Linked DNA regions of Homo sapiens: region 2 is linked to region 1. Evidence: promoter capture Hi-C in human tissues and cell types (Jung and others, 2019). All regions are on one chromosome and are shown on one strand. Each heading gives the region's core, a stretch centred on a gene start or on the middle of the fragment in contact. The rest is flanking DNA. Distances are from core to core; before and after follow the strand shown. Region 1 holds the start of MMP17 (matrix metallopeptidase 17). Region 2 overlaps EP400 (E1A binding protein p400).

The links. The method cuts DNA at HindIII sites, captures the fragments that hold promoters and counts their contacts. A contact is called where the count stands out against the background at its distance.
Region 2: a fragment that was not itself captured here is called in contact with the fragment with the promoter of MMP17 in region 1 in 4 of the 25 tissues and cell types used here (dorsolateral prefrontal cortex, pancreas, spleen and 1 more).

The regions. Positions count from the first base shown.
Region 1 is chr12:131,827,125-131,829,966 of GRCh38, forward strand. MMP17 (matrix metallopeptidase 17) reads left to right here and starts at 1,269. Exons shown (of 10, transcript NM_016155.7): 1 at 1,269-1,529. The coding sequence starts at 1,371. RefSeq lists a silencer at 1,134-1,263. The HindIII fragment of the contact is 32,715 bases long and covers 1-2,842 here.
Region 2 is chr12:132,074,634-132,077,488 of GRCh38, forward strand. EP400 (E1A binding protein p400) reads left to right here. Exons shown (of 53, transcript NM_015409.5): 52 at 1,883-1,960; 53 at 2,768-2,855. Among named protein-coding and RNA genes, the nearest start is that of SNORA49, 45 kb to the left of the region's middle. The HindIII fragment of the contact is 6,004 bases long and covers 1-2,855 here.

The sequences.
Region 1 (2,842 bases), core at 19-2,518:
GCCAAGATCGTGCCACTGCACTCCAGCCTGGGCAACAGAGCAAAAAAAAAAAAAAGAAAGAAAGAAAAAACAATCCGGGATGTCCTGTGAAAGTCCCCACCTCCTACAGGTGATCCCATCAGTCCGAACCAAGGTCATCTGAAGCAGGTGTGGAATCACCCTGTTCAGACCGGGCCAGGGAGGCTCTGAGGGCAGCAGGGACAGGATGGGCCAGAGTACCCAGGGAAGCGGGGGGGGGGGGGGGGGGGTGGTTGGGGGGAGTCGGCCCTCACAGGAGGGGAGGGGCACCACTTCCCTGAGACCAGTTCTGGTAAAAGGGGCCGAGCCTCAGTTTCCCTGTCCGTAGAATGAGACCTCAGTCCTGACAGTACCAGCTGCGATTTGGGGTGGTGGAGCAGGAGGGCCTGGGAAGGAGGGGAAGCCATGCTGTCCAGCACGAGGAGAAGCTGAATAAAGGCAAGGGTTACCCTTGAACCTCACCCCCTGCCCTCTCCCAAGATCTCCCACTCGGTGGGCAGCCTGTACGCAACTTGCACGAGTTCAATCCACACAAGCGCCTGCTCGGGCTCTGACCCTGGCTCTGCCGCTTGCCCGCTCCAGGACCTCCCATAAGTTACTTCATTTCTTTGGGCCTCAGTTTCTTTGTCTGCGAAATGGAAATCATAGTTTTCATCTCATAAATGTTGTAAGTAAATGAAATTATTTATGTAACTCCTGGGCATGTGCCAGGCACACGCTGCGCTCCAACAAACATTACAAGTTAACATTCTCGCTCCCAGGCCCGCAGGGACCGCAGAGCCTCCGCCGAGGACCCCAGCCCCCCCAACACCCGCCCTCGCCCTCCAGTCCCCCGCGCCCCCCAAGCCCCACCCTCCCTCTCCCGCGGTCCGCGGGCTCCACCAAGCGCCCACCTGCTGCGCTGCGGCGGCGGCTCCGGGGCCTGAACCCGGGTCTGAACCCGGGCCTCGGCGCCGTGGGGGGTGGACCCGGGAGCGCGGCCGGAGAGGGGAGTCAGGGTCAGCTCCCCGCAGGCGCCCCGACCCCCGCCTCCGCGCCCATCCCGCGCGTCCCCGCCGCCCCAAGAGCGTCCTAAGACACCCGGGGAAACGCCTTCCCTGTGATGCCGCGGACCCAGTCCCGTCGCGGACACGGCGGGGCGGGCGGGGGTGGCAGCGTCCGAGGCGGCGCGGGCCCTTTAAGGCGGCCGGCCTCGTTAGCATACATTTGCATGGCCCCGCCCCGCCGCTTGAGGCTGCCGCGCGGGGCTCAGTCCGGCGGGGGCGCCGCGGAGAGCGGAGGGCGCCGGGCTGCGGAACGCGAAGCGGAGGGCGCGGGACCCTGCACGCCGCCCGCGGGCCCATGTGAGCGCCATGCGGCGCCGCGCAGCCCGGGGACCCGGCCCGCCGCCCCCAGGGCCCGGACTCTCGCGGCTGCCGCTGCCGCTGCTGCTGCTGCTGGCGCTGGGGACCCGCGGGGGCTGCGCCGCGCCCGCACCCGCGCCGCGCGCCGAGGACCTCAGCCTGGGAGTGGTGAGCGCGCGGGCGGGACGGGCGCGGAGCTCCTGGGCCGGAGCCGGGGGTCTCCGCGGGCCGGGTGGCGGGGACCGGGAAGACCCCAGCAGTGCACGTCGGCGTCGCGCGGGAGCCCTGGCGCCCTGGACCCATTTCCTGGGTGGGGAGACTGAGGCAGGGACGCGGGCTGAGCGACCGGGCGAGCGCACGCGAGTCCTGGGGAGGCGCCGGCTGCCGTCCCGGCTCCGTGCGCTGGGAGCGCGCCGCAGCCGCAGGAGCCCGTGGAGTTGTGAGGGGGTCGCCCACCCGGAGCCCGGGTCGCCGGCTTGCAGCAGCCCCGGAGCAGCCGGGCTGGGCGAGAGCAGGCATCGCGGCCGCCCCGAGCTCTGCGCGCTGCGTGCGTTCCGGGTGGGAGTGGCGGGGGCAGGAGCACGCACCCACAAAGCGAGGAAGGGCAGGGGCTACGGAGTGGGGGCACCCCGAAAGCCTTGAGCCCCCGAGTTTGCTCGGTTGAGGGTGTTGGGGGCACAGGGATGCTGGCCCCCAGCTCCCCACTGGACAAGGACCTGGCCCTCAGCCTCCTTCCCCTCCACCCCAGGTCGGCCAGGCTGGCCCTGCCTTGCCCTGGTACAGTGCTGAGCCGGGGGCGCGGGGAGAGCCTTCCTCACTCCACACCCAGTAGCTGTCCCCAGCTCAGCTTAGAAACCCTGCCTGGGGGCAGCGACGTGGCCTCTTCCTACAGCCCCCTCCCCTGTTCCGCAGCCGGGACTCGCGTCTCCTGTGGACCCGGAAGATTTAGAGCACACGTCGTGGGGTCAGCGCCCCCCCGCTGGGGCGGCCGGGTGAACTCCCGCTGGGTTCGTTGGTTCCTTCTGAGGCTCCTGCCCCACCGCTGCCTTCAATGGACTCCTACCCAGGGAGTCGGGCCAGGAGCCGAGGCCTCCCCGCCCCACACAAGTACTCGGCCTGGCCCTCGTCCGCGGACAGTCTCCCAGTGGGGTCCTGGCAGGGCCCCTCGCCCAGCGCAGTGGACATTCAGGAGCTCCAAAACCTTGGGGTCCAAGCAAGTCAGCGCAGGTGTATTTCAGGCAGTCGAGGCATATGGAGGGGCCACTTGGGTGGCACCCGCAGCCCCTGTGGTTGGCAGGACTTGGCCAGGGGGTCTGGATGGGAAGCCGATTTGGCCACCGTTTGCCCCAGGCCCCGAAGCCATCTGGGAGGGTGCTGGCCACTGTCCCTGCTGCCCGCGTCCAGGTGCCTGCAGGTCCCCACAGTGGCTTCCTTCCAGCCAGGCAGCCTGTGAACTTGGGGTGCCCCCCTCCACCTCCTCA
Region 2 (2,855 bases), core at 131-2,630, 250 kb after region 1:
GGTCTCTCAGCAGCTTTTGTATTTTCTGTGTCTTTGTCTCGTCGTACTATATTCTGAGTCATGTCTTTCGCTCTGTCTCCTCAGTCACTCATTTTTCCCTTGGTTAAGTCAAATCTGCTTCAAAGCTTGTCTGTTGAATTTTTATCTTGATGATTTATTATTTTATTTTCAGAAGTTCCCAAATAATGCCTGGTCTTTGTTTATAGTCTCTTGTTTCCAGGCCTCGCAGAGTGAGTGAGGTGTTTTTCTGGATCTGGTGATTTCCCTGTCTGAAATGTGCTGCATCTGCGGGGACCCCTCGCAGCCTGGGGCAAAGGTGGAGTTTTGCTTCCGCGGGCACCTTCAGGTGCCACAGGAACACTGCTTGGTGTGTGGCTCAGGCTTTCACTCAGCTCTCAGGTGTTACCCACCTGGCCTCTGAATCTGTGTCTCCTCCTCTCTCCTCCCCGGCACTGAGGCTTAGGGCAGGTGCTTTTCTTACAGATGCCACTGGAGGAAGGGGATGCTTTCTTTGCAGCCTTTGGGTACCTTTGTGGGTACAGTGTCTCCCTCCAGGATGGCAGCTGGCAGTAGCACGGGGCTCTTTTGCAAGCTCCCCACCGAGAACTGGCCTATACCTGGTGTCTGGTCAGCTGTGTCCTGTGCGACCCTGGAGATCACGGGGTGCGTCTCCATGTGGCCAGCGATCCCGGGCAGAGGTTGTGCAGCTTTTCTGCTCCGTGACTCGTGATGCCCGCCTGTGCTTAGGTTTGGAGACTGGCAGTTCCTGACTCTTTGCAGGTTTCTTGGTACATTTAAGATTTCTTGCTAGTGCTTTATTTAAGACGTCTCAGGATTTTCAGTGCTGTGCCAAGTAAGTCCTGGACCATTGTGGTCTTGAGATGGGCCCTGGAGCACCGGCTGCATCTTTGTTTCCCAGCAGTTCCACAGGGGGCGCTCAGGGCACTTATCTTAGTGAATTTTATTTATAATTGTTTAAGTGACAGTAAACTAGTAAATGCCTTCTGATTGATTTTAATTTTAGTAAGGACTAACATTTATTTCGACCTTTGTTCATGTGTGAGTAAATCATGTAATTTCACATATTTCGCAGAATAATCTTGGGAAATATTATTTTCATCCGTTTTCTGTAAGTAACAGGACCCAGCAAGAGACCAGGGTCCGTGAGGGCCTTGTGCAGGGAGGGCCCTTGAAATCAGGGCCCCCAGCAGCTGCCCACGCTGGAGCCTCTCTTGTGTTCTGGGTGCACGCCATGACGGTGCTGATAGGACACACAGGTGGCCCAGAGCCTCTTACTACGTCAAGACAGCGGGAGATGCATGCAGTAGCAAGTGCACAGAAAGTGGGCACTGGGTGGAAAGTGTTGCTTTATAAATAGCCAGATCTCAATCATGACTAAGAAGAATGTAGAAAAATGATAAAATTACCAGCCTCAAAACCTTGGTGCGTCACCGGGTTCCCCACTTCAGCTGGCTGCCCTAGCTGCACTGTACAGCTCATTACTGGAACGTCGTCCAGGCCTGTCATATGCAGAGCCCTTGGGACTCACAAGACGCTCAAATACTTACCATCCTCAGTCTGATTCTTTCATATAAACTTGCAGTCGTTTTTGTGAAAAGAAAAAATGTGTCTGAAATATGAGACCAAAAATAAGCTTAAATGATGAGTGATGGCAAATTGGGGAGGCAGTCAGTTGACTCACCATGCAGTGGAACGACTTGCTCTCTCACTGCTGCAGGTGGGCACACTACGAGAATTGCTCTTCTGTGTCACCTGGTCATTGTGTTTTTTGCATTAACTGAGGACAGAAAGGGAGGAAAAATCTCTTTTTGTGCACATACTCCTTTGAATTGTATGTTTGGCTTTTTTTGTTTTGTCAAAGGTTGCAAAACTTCCTCAAGTTGTTCAACAGCAAACACCCGTGGCCAGCATCCAGCAAGTTGCCTCTGCTTCCCAGCAGGTAGGACGCATAGACAAAGTGGAAACCTCACATTTCCCAGGTCAGAGAATGGGTTGTTTTCATCTGAGGTCATGATTAGGGAATCACTTTTGATTTTTGTGATACACACAAAAACATTAACTTCAGGGGAAAAACTAGATACACTTAATAATGAGAAGAGTGAACAAGCGTTTAGAGGTTGTGTCAGCCATACTGAGGGAGCCTCACCTTGGGCTCATTCCCAGGACCCTTCATTCACTGATCATCGCGGGTGTGTCCTGCAAGTCGCAGACACTGCCCTGTGGTTTTAGGGAGGCACAGGCCTCAGGCAAGCAGGCTCCGCTCGGGGCCCGCCCTTGAGCAGAGGCGCTGTGGGCACAGTGGCCTTGCCTCCCACAGAAGCCCTTCAGGCGCTTTCACTGTTGTCACTGATGCTCCACAATATGACTCTTTAGCACAGTGCTTTAAATGTAAAGCGGTGCTTTAAACTTTCTAAATTTTGTTTAAAGTCACACTGGCATATAGATTTCAAGAAACCAAACTCTATTAAAAGCTTTACTACAACAACAAAATCAGTCCCTGACCCAGCTCTCACCCTTTTCCCAAGAGGCATCTGGTGTTAGTCTAAAAGCAACCATCTTTTAATTTTCCACTTGTGTTTAATTGGAAACCAGAGGTCATACTGTTGTGTGACTGGTCATTCTTCCGTGTCATAAAAGCATAGTCAGTGAAGTTTCTCGAGTCCTCCCCATCCCAAAGAACGTCCATTTTCCTGTCCCTGGACTGAGTTTCCTGGGCAATGTGTGTTTTCTGACTCTCTCGGCTCAGGCTTCTCCACAGACTGTGGCGCTCACGCAGGCGACGGCGGCCGGGCAGCAGGTGCAGATGATCCCTGCAGTGACCGCGACTGCCCAGG